3 separate regions of the Homo sapiens genome follow, and all the other regions are linked to region 1. Evidence: promoter capture Hi-C in 16 types of primary human blood cells and fetal thymus (Javierre and others, 2016). All regions are on one chromosome and are shown on one strand. The core of a region is centred on a gene start or on the middle of the fragment in contact, and the rest is flanking DNA. Distances in the headings are between cores, read along the strand shown. Region 1 holds the start of TGFB3 (transforming growth factor beta 3). Region 2 overlaps TTLL5 (tubulin tyrosine ligase like 5). Region 3 overlaps TTLL5 (tubulin tyrosine ligase like 5).

Region 1 (3,190 bases), core at 1-2,500:
TTGCTCAAGATCTGTCCCCTAATGGCTTCCACCCTCTTCTTCTTGATGTGGCCGAAGTCCAAGGTGGTGCAAGTGGACAGAGAGAGGCTGACCGTGGCAAAGTTCAGCAGGGCCAGGACCACCAGAGCCCTTTGCAAGTGCATCTTCATGTGTGAGCTGGGAAGAGAGGCCAGGGGGACGGCAAGGCCTGGAGAGGAAGAGACCCCAGCAGACGTGCAGAAGGAGGGAGGAAAACCAGGCGGCCTCCCCAGATCCCAAAGACTGAGGCTTGGCAAGAAGGTGCATGAACTCACTGCACTGCGAGAGCTTCAGGACTTCCAGGAAGCGCTGGCAACCCTGAGGACGAAGAAGCGGACTGTGTGCCTTGTAGCGCTGGGATTCTTGTCCATGTGTCTAAACAGGTTTTGCTGGGCTCTGACTCCCAGCAGGCCAGGTGGAGGGCAAGCAGAGGGCTGGGAGGGGTGGCAAGGCAGCTGGGAGTGGGAAGGGAGCTGGAGTTTTTCCTTAGGTAAAAATAAATAGAGTGGATATCTGATATTGCCAAACGCCGCTTGGCGATGGGGAGAAAGTGGGTATTTTAAAGAAGAAGCAGAAGGACCATGGCTGGGTCCCAAAATCAAAATCCTTGCCTTGCCTTGAAAGAAAATAAGAAAAGAGAATGGAAAAGAAAAGGGAAAAAAAAGTAAAAAAAAAAAGATCACCAGTGAGTAGGTGGGGAGAAGCAGGGCCGGGCAGTTGCTGGCCCAGCTAAAGGTGGGGGCAGTACAGGACACACTTGTCTCTCAGGCACTCCATTCATGCTTTCTCTTTTGTTTACACTTCCTCGGGGGCTTTCTAAATGACTTTGTTCACGCTGCCTCTCGTCTTCATTGGCTGGGGTGTGGGGTTATATGCATTGGAAGGCAGGGAGGCAGGCCTCTGAGCGCAGCAGCCCCAATCATCCACTCAGACGCCCAGGGTCACCAGCACCTCGGCTTGTCTTCTGCCTCGGCCATTGCTTCTGTCCCCTGCTTCTCTTTAAAAAATAAAAAGGAGAAAAAAATAAAATAAAATAGAAGCCAGTTCACGGCACGCCTGCTCCGGAAAGCTGTTATTCCTTCTCTCGCACGCCTCTTCCCCTGTCTCTGCCTCTCTCGCTCATTCCCTTGGACTTGACTCTCTGCTTCCCTCCCTTTCTCTCTCTCCCTCTCCCTCTCCCTCTCGCTCCTCTCCCTCTCTCTCTCACACACACACACATGCACACACACTGCTTTCTCTATTTCTCTCTGCTGAAATTTTATACCTCCCTCCCATGACGTCTCTGGCCTGGGGTGGGGGAGGGAGGGACCAGCGCACGCAGCCTCTTTTGCTGCACGATGTTAATGTTTTAAACAGGCACAGGAAAAGCCGAGCCCTTTTGAAAAATACTTTGCGAGTCCTCTCGTTCGACGTGGTAGCTGAACTTTTTTTCCCCTCTTGGAATCACTCCTGCCACACGTTGGCTGTTTTTCTGGAAAGTTACTCCGATGAGCCCCCTCCCTCCCTTTCCCCCAGCCCCGGCGCCCTCTCGCCAGCTGTCAGTCCGCGCCGTCCGCGGCCCGCGTCTACTCTCCCTCCTGGTCCCCCGGTCCCGGGGCCGCCCGCGGGCCAGGCCCAACCCGGGGCAGGGTCCGCAGAGGGCGCGGGACCCGGTAGGGGCGGCCATGCCAGCCTCGCAGAGGGGACTCCCAGCCTGCGAGCCGGGTCGGAGGGTCGGCGTCCGCTCCGCGGCGATCCTGGCCCGATTCTTCATTGACAAGATCGGAGTCGGGAGGCGGGCAGAAGCCTGGAGACGCTCCAGGGGCAGTGAAAAATGGTGGCGTTTTCCGGAAGATCGAGGGTGCCCTCTGGCGAGGCGAGGCCGCCAGTGAAGGAGCTCGGCTGGTCGGGAGCCGGGGAGGCTCGGGGGCTGGGGGCTGCGGGGTGGGGGCTGAGGGGCGGGAGAAGGGGCTGCGGTAGAGAGCGAGAAAAACAAGACCCAGGCCCCGAGGAATCGCCTCCCTCCCGGCCCGACGTGCGCACGAGCGCACCTCTCCCTCCCCGACCGCCGCTCCGGAGCCGCTCTCGCAGAAATGTCATCCAGATGTTCAGCCTCCCTCCCCGCCGAGGTCTCCGCAGGGAGCTGCGCCAGCGAGCGCGAAGTCAGCAGTTGGCCCGAGCCCATTTCCCAGATGGGTGAGGGGAAGTCGGCTCTGTGCTTTCGCTCCTCTTCTCGGCCCGAACCTCTAGGCCTTTTCCCACGAGCAGCCAAGGGAGGGTAGGGCACGTGGCTCCCCGCACCCCGCAACACAGGGCTTGCCTCTGAACTGAACTTTCCTGAGAGTGAGTGCCGCTCCCACCCCATCTCACTCCAGCCTTCCTGGACCCTTTCTGAGAGGTCTGGCTTCCAGGCCACTAACTGAAGGGGCTGTTCTCTGTATCCCAGCACAGCGGTGGGTCACTTTACGGATGAGGAAACTGAGGCATAGAGTTTTTTGTTTTTTTTTTTACAGACCACACTGCTTGTGAGTGATGGAGGCGATATTTTACACAGGCTATCTAGCTTGGGTAGGCATTACTTTCATTTGCAAAACCAATGGGAAACCTAGGGGTAGAAACTTTAAAAGTAACTTGCCCAAGGTCACATAGTTATTAGGTGTCAGCTGTTGGGATTTGGACCCAGGACGTTGCCAGATTCTGGACTTAATTACTATGCTATACTGCCTCTGAAATTTCAGAAAAAGTTTAATGTTTACTATATACCAGGCACTATTCTAGGCTCTGTGAAGAATATCAGTGAACGAAACAAAACTCCTGCCCTCAGGGAAATTTTATTTTAGAGGCAGGGGTGGGGCAGTGGAGGAGGCGATAAACTAAATAAATATGTAAATGATGTAGTACGGTAAAAAGTGCTGAGCCAGGTGCAGTGGCTCACGCCTGTAATCCCAGCATTTGGGGAGGCCCATGCAGGAGGATTACTTGAGCTCAGGAATTCGAGACCAGCCCCAGCAACACGGCGAAACCCAGTCTCTACAAAAAAATGGAAAAATTAGCCCGGCATGTTGGCGCAGGCATCTACTTGGGAGGCTGAGGCAGGATAATCACTTGAGCCAGGGAGGCAGAGTTTACAGGGGGCCAAGATTGCACCACTGCACTCCAGCCTGGACGACAGAGCAAGACCGTGTCTCAAACA
Region 2 (3,733 bases), core at 863-3,362, 210 kb before region 1:
GGTAACTGGGACAAGGAGCTCAAGCAGCTCGTCGTTTAGTATCAGAGACAGAGAGCTCAGGCCATGGCCCCACTATGAACAAAGTGGTCTTAGGACACAGAAAAAGAGTGATTGGTCTGGCTTGGGAGGGCTAGAAAGGCATTATGGATGAGGGAAAATTTGAATCAGGCCTTGACAGATGAGTAGGGTTTCAGGAGCTTTGGGAAGTGATGGTTAAATGTGGGAGTGCTAGGTAGAGGCAATAAAGACGTAGAGGTGGCCAAGCTCAGTGTCTCACACCTATAATTGCAGCACTTTGGGAGGCCGAGGTGGTCGGATCACCTAAGGTCAGGAGTTCGAGACCAGCCTGACCAACATGGAGAAACCCTGTCTCTACTAAAAATACAAAATTAGCTGGGTGTGGTGGTGCATGCCTGTAAGCCCAGCTACTCGGGAGGATGAAGCAGGAGAATTGCTTGAACCTGGAAGGTGGAGTTTGCAGTGAGCCAAGATTGTGCCATTGCACTCCAGCCTGGGCAACAAGAGTGAAACTCCATCTTAAAAAAAAAAAAAAAAAGACATAGAGGTGTGATAATACAGTCATTCATTAAGTCCCTCAGTGAGTTTTTATTGAGCACCTGCCCTATGCCAGTTGTGCTAGGCCATATCACATTACTGTGGGGACCAAGATAGGCCTGGAGTTTACAGTCTAGTGGGGAAGAATGACAGTTAACAAAGAAACAAGGTCATTTCAGGTCGTGAGAAATGCTGTCAGGACAATAAGATGGTGTAATGTTAGAATGTAATTGGGCAGAGTTACTTAATTGCAGTGATCTGGCATGAAGAGGTAACCTTTGAGGTAAGTCCTGAATGATGAGGAGTCAGTCGTGTGAATAGTAGGAGGCAGAATACTCCCAGCAGAATAGCAAGTACAAAAGCCCAGACATCGTAATGAGCTTGGTGTGTTTACAAAATACAGACTAGAGGAATTATATAAGGAGAAGAGCATGGTAAGAAATGAGACTAAAAAATTGGATGTTGTTAGATTGTGAAGGGCCGTAAGAGGAGCCTAAGCTTTATTTTCTAGATGACTTTTAAGCAGATAAATGATACGGTGAGATCTTGTTTTAGAAAGTAAATCGTGCTTGCATTGTGGGATAGTGAAACTAAAGGCAGGGGGGTGAGTTAGGGACTGTTAGAATTGTCCAGAGCCAGGAAGATGAAGGCCTTGATCAGAGTAATGGCTTTAGGAGTGGAGAGAATGGGATGGACTTAGTAAAATTTGCAAAGTAAAATTGATGAGACTAAGTTTTTCACATTTGGAAACTTGGTGGTGCCTTTGGTCAATATAAGGAACATAGGAGTTGGTTTCATGTTAAAAACAATGAGTTTGATTTAAGATGTAGTAAGGAAGAAGGGTTCTGGGCTAAAGTCCAATAGACAGGTGGACAGCTTTGTTGATCAAGGTTGAACAGGATTGTATAGTTGGTAGGTAAAGTCTTGCGAATGGATAAGATTGTTCACAAATTTATTTGGTTCAGCAAGGATAAAAAAAGAATTGAGCCCTGGGGAATACCACTGTTCAATGGGTAAGTCAGTAAAAAGGTCAAGATGTAGCAGTTAGAGCAATAGACATAAGATCAGGAAGGAGTAGTATGGTAAAAGCTGCAGAATGAGCATTTCAGGTCTGTAGAGCCTCAAACAGCCCTAGTTAGGATGAATAGTGAAAAGAGACTTCTGGATTTGTGACCTAGGGCCAACTGAGTAGGTGGAAGACCAGTTGTGAGTGGAGAAAATAAGAAAGCAAGTGTGAACTAACTGTCTAAGGGTTTGGCAATGAAAGGAAGGTAAGAATGCATCAGGGAGACAGCCAGCTAAAAGAAACGGATTTTTTTTTTTTCTTTTGAGAAGAGGTTCTGGAGGTTGTTTATAGACTAAGGGGAAGGATTTGAGGATAAGAGGATTAGAAATGCAGAAATGGACATATTGGTAGAGAAGAGTACTAAAGGAAGGTGGGAAGAGGCCAGAGGAGGGAGTATCTCTTCCTATCAGTCAGAAAGAAAGTGCTATGGGATGAATGAAGTTGACAGAAGTTTAAGAGCAAGGAAGTTTAGCCGTTTATGCATGATAGTCTTTATTTCTAAATTAGAGGCCAGTTCTTATACTGAAAGGCTGGAGGGTGACATTGGAGTAGCAGGGGATAGAGTTAAGGTTTGGAACAGTGTCATGGAGAATAAGAATAGTTCTGTCAGTGGAGAATAGAATATGCTAAACTCAGTCAGAAGACCTGAGCTCTGGCTGTTTTAGTGCTACCAACTGGCCGTGTGGTCATAGACAAGTCAAAGAGCTTCTATAGGCCTCAGTTTCCTTTTCTGTCAATCCAAGATGTGGAGTTAGACAAGTGTTTTTTCAAACTTCTTCCTAGAGGGAAAGAAGATTTCACTGAATTGAAAATAGAGCATTTGAAAACCACTGGACTGTATTCTAAGGTCCTTTCCAGCAATAACATTCTGCTTAGTTGTTGTAGAAATAAATTATTTCTTCATGAATCTTGTGGCTCTCGCTTTGAATGAGTAAACTGTTAAAATTGCAGGCTGCGTTAGTGTCAATCAGTGGTTTTCAGACTGTGTTCCCTAAAGCTGCTCATTGTTCGGTGAAGTGTCTCAGAGGCTACTTAGGGGTTTGGGGAAAGTCCACGCACAGCCAGGGTTCAAAACTCTAAGGATCGCGTCATTGTTGCATATCTTATATACTGAGCATCTGCATAACCTTTTGTTTTTTAAAATAGGTTTCTTTGGTTTTTATTCTTTCTGGTTTTTATTCTTTCATCTTTTGGGGGGTTTGTTGCAAGTGACTAGCTGAACAATGTGTCCAATACCTTAGAGACAGTCTCAGAATTAACATTCGTGACGTTTATGGAAATGGAAACCTCAATATTTGTTCATTTGCTTTGCAACAGTGATTCACAACAAAACAATGATTGAAGTCTCAACTTATGAGCAATAATCCCCTTATTTAAAAGATCTTCAAGTTTTAGTATAAAGGGATGAATCCGTGGAATTGGATATTCTGCTACATTTGAAGGTGTCTGAAACATGCTATTTCTTGCTCATTATATTGTAGGTGAATTTATTGACCCAAACTGAGGATCTTTTAAATTTATTTTGACTTGAGAATAATTTGTTGTGGAGACAAAGCTTATAGGATTGATTCAGGGTAAAGTGATATATGCTCTCTGGGTAAACAAGAGTATAATTATTGTCTTTGAGGAACAGTTGAAAATGTACATTTATGGCCAGGCGTGCAGGCTCATGCCTGTAATCCCAGCACTTTGGGAGGCTGAGGTGGGTGGATCACCTGAGGTCAGGAGTTTGAGACCAACCTGATCAACATGGTGAAACTCTATCTCTATTAAAATACAAAAATTAGCTGGGCATAGTAGTGAGCACCTGTAATCTTAGCTACTTGGGAGGCTGAGGCAGGAGAATCGCTTGAACCTGGGAGGCAGAGGTTGCAGTGAACCAAGATCACACCACTGCACTCCAGCCTGGGTGACAAGAGCAAAACTCTGTCTCGAAAAAAAAAAAAAAAAAAAGAAAATATAAGTGTATTATTTCAAAACCATATTATGCTCCCATAAAAACCATCCCTGCTAGTAACAAAGATGTAGCCTTATTCTTAGTTCATGTTCTGAAGCTCTTATGTATTAAACTCTCAAAAGCAAATCTTCTCCCCAGCCTGACTCCCTTGCCCT
Region 3 (4,162 bases), core at 148-2,647, 240 kb before region 1:
AAGATAAGGGTTTATTCCATTTTTCTGTCTTTTATAGCGTCCAGTATCTGCACAGTTTCAGTCGTCAAAGGCCAAGCAGGTAAGTTCTAGATCTTTTGGAGACTTCTTCAAATTTTATTTTCATTCTCCAAATGGAAAGTTTTTTAGCTTTAGTTTTTCATGGTACATATTTTTATGTACCTATTTTTTTGCGCAGTTTAATAACAAAGTGAATGAAAATGAATGCATAGAAGTCTTTTTGGTTATAGGATATAAGAGTAGAGGATGCAGGAACTTAGGGATCCTCTTTTCCTGATAGTGATTATACTGAGATGGAGACAGTTGAATTTAAATGAGGAACAGGGGCTTGAAGGCATATCTATCACTTTGACCAAAATAATCCAGGAAGGAAATTTTCCAGTTCACAAATGAACTTCAATTTTTTTTTTCAGACATCTTATGAAACATACTGTTGTCTATAGCTTAATATTGGAAATGTTTTCACATTGGGTGTAGGGTTGTATTTGAGTTCCTTAACAGGTGACATTTCAAATATGTAGTGATCTGCAGTTTATAAATCTTAGAAGCTCTGCCACAATAGTGTCTCAGATGCTACCTTTGAAATACAAACATCTTTCTTTCTGAATGATCAGCATTTGCTTTCTTACTGTTTTTGTTAGCAGTATTTGAGATTAACCATTGCTTTCTTCTGCACAGATTTAAAAAATTCTTTTTGAAGTAATAGGCTAGCAGTGGGGGTCCTGTGCCTGCTATTTGATGCTTTAGTATGAGGGATATAGATATTCTCATATATAAACGTGTCACTGCAACTGTTGTTTAGCAAAAAGCTCCAGTATATTTATTTTGGCGTTTGTACTCTCTGATGCAATTTCTGGTAAGCTTGAATGCTTGACATGTAACTTTTCTTAGCTACTGTTTCTGATAAAGTGATTTATATGGTTTATGTGAATCCAAGAAATGAAAAATAACTTACTGGATGCCTTGTCTAATATTTAGTAACTGATTAATGTGGCTCTGTAGTATGAGTTTTGGTGCTTAGTTGGTGGAATTCGAAACTCTATAATATGTAGTATTTTATATTTAGTAAATACCTAAGTATGCTAGTTGCTCCCATGGCAGAAAACAAAACAAAATAATGCTGTTGACTTCAAAGAGCTTATATTCTAAATATACCTGGAACTAATGTACTGAAAGGAGTACGTTAGGAAAGGGGTACTCTTTCATAGCCTGTGGCATTTGACTGTAAAGAAGTGTCTTTGATAGGTAATTCTAATTTATTTTTACTTACTTATTTGAGACAGCGTGTCACTCCATCACCCAGGCTGGAGTGCAGTGACGCGATCACAGCTCACTACAGCCTGGACTTCCTGGGCTCAGGTGATCCTCCCACCTTGGCCTCCTGATTAGCTGGGACTACAGGTGCACACCACCATGCCTGGCTAATTTTTTGTATTTTTGGTAGAGATGAGGGTTTTGACCTGTTACCCAGGTTGGTCTGGAACTCCTGAGCTCAAGCGATCTGCCTGCCTCGGCCCTCCCAAAGTGCTGGGATTGCAGGCATGAGCCACCATGCCCGGCCTTTGATATGTAATTCTAATCTTAATTTCTCATTATCAATTTTAATTCCATTACATCTAGTTGCATTGCTTGAATTACCGTAGGTTGTAATAGGCTTGTTGGAGAGCAAGACCTCTCTTTAGTAGTAATGTATCTGAATACTTGCTTACGTGACATAAAGCCTTTCTGGCTTTATTCAGCCAGCTTTATACATGTTGAATTCTTTGACTTTTATTGTACTTTGCAATGTTCTATTTTGTCATTGTCTTTCTGTTAACGAAGCACTCTTAACTTCACAGTATTTTCATTGGAGCTAAGTAAAAAAAAAAATTTCTTTGTTCTGACCAGTTAGACTGTGTCAAGCTTTCTTTTTCTGTTGCTGTCAGATTGTGAATTCTCTTAGTCCTTTGCCCTTTTTCTGCCTTTTCCTTTTTAAACCATTATCTCTATATTTCTCCTTTCTCTTTAATGTCTATGGTTCAAATTTTCCACTCACCAGAAATTGTATGGCATGGTACTGTGGAAAGAATATGGACTTTTACAGTCCGATAGACCTGGATTCAAATTTGAGCTCTGCCAAAAACTAGCAATTAGACCTTTGGGCAAGTTCTCTTACCTCTCTGAGGCTCAATTCCCACATCTGTCATATGGGGATAATAATATATACATGAAGTTACAGTGAGGAAGAAATGATAAAATGGAGGTAAAATATTCAGGATAAGTGCTAGACATGTAGTTTACACTAAGAAGATTTACTCCCCTTCACACTTTTGAGTCTTTTGATTTTCCCATTGTCAAGATCTCTTGTTATTTTGATATTCACCTGTTTGTAGTCATGTTTTTCACATTTGCCATCATCCACAAATGCTATTTTGTTTTTCCTTCCAGATGTTAATGAAGATTCTAAATAATGCTTAGTTAATACCCATTCCAGAAATCACTTTCTAACTTGATTCACTGCTATTTATCTTGCAGTTACACTGTTTTCAGTGTTTGTTGATGTGTTATATTCTGGCACTAACCCCTAACTGGAAATATAATTTAGAATAAAAATTTTGTGAAATTTTCTCAAATGCTTCTCTAAAATCCAAAGACATTTAATATATTGCTATAGTTCCCCTTTTAAAAATCTTGTCCTAAAAATGAAACTTTTAAAGCATGTTTTAAAATAAAGCATTCTTCATACTATTCTTCATAAGCCCATTATCCTCTAAGTTATTAGGGATTTTTTCCTTTTAATATTTGTTCCATTATTTTACTAGGGATTCGAGTTAGGTTTACCAGGCAGTAACCACCAGGAGCATACTTCTTACATTTTTGAAGATTAGTACCTCATTTGGTTTTTTTCTAAACTGGTACCTCCTCAGTTCTTCATGATTTTTCAAACATAATTATAAGTGGTTTGGGTAAGTTTTGTTTGTTTTTAAAGCCAATTTCCTTAATAACAGGATGCATGTCTCTCAGACCTGCTGGCTTACATTTATTCCAAATTTCTAGATGCTGTTACACAAGCCTACTTGCTTTCTCCCCTCCACCTGCCAATTTCAAAGTATACCCTGATTATCAGTATGTTTAAACCTTCTCTTAGAAGCCATTTTTTTGGTCCATTTCCATTCAGATTTATTGATAATGTGGTCTTTTCCATTTGTTTTCTTTCATTTGATAGCATTCATTTTACTTTTAAACTTGATTTTACCTGTTGTTTTTTAGATGGTAAAATGTATCACATATAAATTGAGCTATTTCTAGTTCCTTTGCTTTTAATGAAGAATTCCAAACTTTGTAAAACTGCATTGGGAGATTTTTATTCTTTGCATGTGTTCTCTGTCAAGCAAATTTTGTTTTTGCCCCTCAATTATGACATAGTCTTAGGATATCTTGCCATTTTTCCCCATTCCACATTTTGTTAAGTTCTTCTCATCATTGGTACTTGCCAGCTTTTTAAAGGCTGAGAGTCATTTTCTGATTCAACATCTGTTTCTTACTACTTTGATTGAGTGGAGACTGGTGGTTCCTTGTCTCAATAATTTCACACTTTCAGCCAGTTGTTCCTTAGCAATGATGGTTAGATATGTAAGGTTTCTTCTCTGGGAAGATTTCTGAATCGTAAGTTGTACTATTGATAAATTCATCTTTATCCTTGGTGCATGTTGCATGGCAGAATTCTTGACAGTAATTTGACAGTTTATAATTTATCTGAGCACTGGATATCTAAATCATGTATCTTTTAGCCAGAGGCAATGGTTCTCCTCTCTAAGTTCAGAGGACCTTACTTCCTTAGTGCATTCAGTCAACTCATGGGAATATGTGGATTTATTATATCTACCACCCAGAGAATGTAGTTGATGTGCCCAAAGGCAAAGCTGCAGAATGACTTGCGTTTGGACTGTTTTGCCCTTGTTTTTGATAGTCTTGGTGGCCTTTCAAATCAGTCTGATTCCTTTTTTTTTTTTTTTAACTTTGCTTTGTTTTTAATCTCCAAGTGTGTCTCCTTGACACTCATAAGCATTTATTTTCTTTTTTTCTGTCCATCTTATCCTTTCTTCTTCCCTTCTCTCTTTCTCTACCTTTTCTTTCACCTGTGTCTATAACTCAGGTCACAGAA

What was found. The method cuts DNA at HindIII sites, captures the fragments that hold promoters and counts their contacts. A CHiCAGO score of 5 or more calls a contact.
Region 2: a contact is called between a fragment that was not itself captured here and the fragment with the promoter of TGFB3 in region 1, in 2 of 17 cell types (endothelial precursors and M1 macrophages). The highest score is 5.6, in endothelial precursors.
Region 3: a contact is called between a fragment that was not itself captured here and the fragment with the promoter of TGFB3 in region 1, in 2 of 17 cell types (M1 macrophages and M0 macrophages). The highest score is 5.6, in M1 macrophages.

The regions. Positions count from the first base shown.
Region 1 is chr14:75,980,745-75,983,934 of GRCh38, forward strand. TGFB3 (transforming growth factor beta 3) reads right to left here and starts at 1,251. Exons shown (of 7, transcript NM_003239.5): 1 at 1-1,251. The coding sequence starts at 149. RefSeq lists silencers at 1,556-1,795, 1,926-2,045 and an enhancer at 1,826-1,885. The HindIII fragment of the contact is 14,571 bases long and covers 1-3,190 here.
Region 2 is chr14:75,766,625-75,770,357 of GRCh38, forward strand. All of the region lies in intron 20 of TTLL5 (tubulin tyrosine ligase like 5), which reads left to right. Among named protein-coding and RNA genes, the nearest start is that of TTLL5, 110 kb to the left of the region's middle. The HindIII fragment of the contact is 2,123 bases long and covers 1,052-3,174 here.
Region 3 is chr14:75,737,529-75,741,690 of GRCh38, forward strand. All of the region lies in intron 15 of TTLL5 (tubulin tyrosine ligase like 5), which reads left to right. Among named protein-coding and RNA genes, the nearest start is that of TTLL5, 78 kb to the left of the region's middle. The HindIII fragment of the contact is 1,041 bases long and covers 878-1,918 here.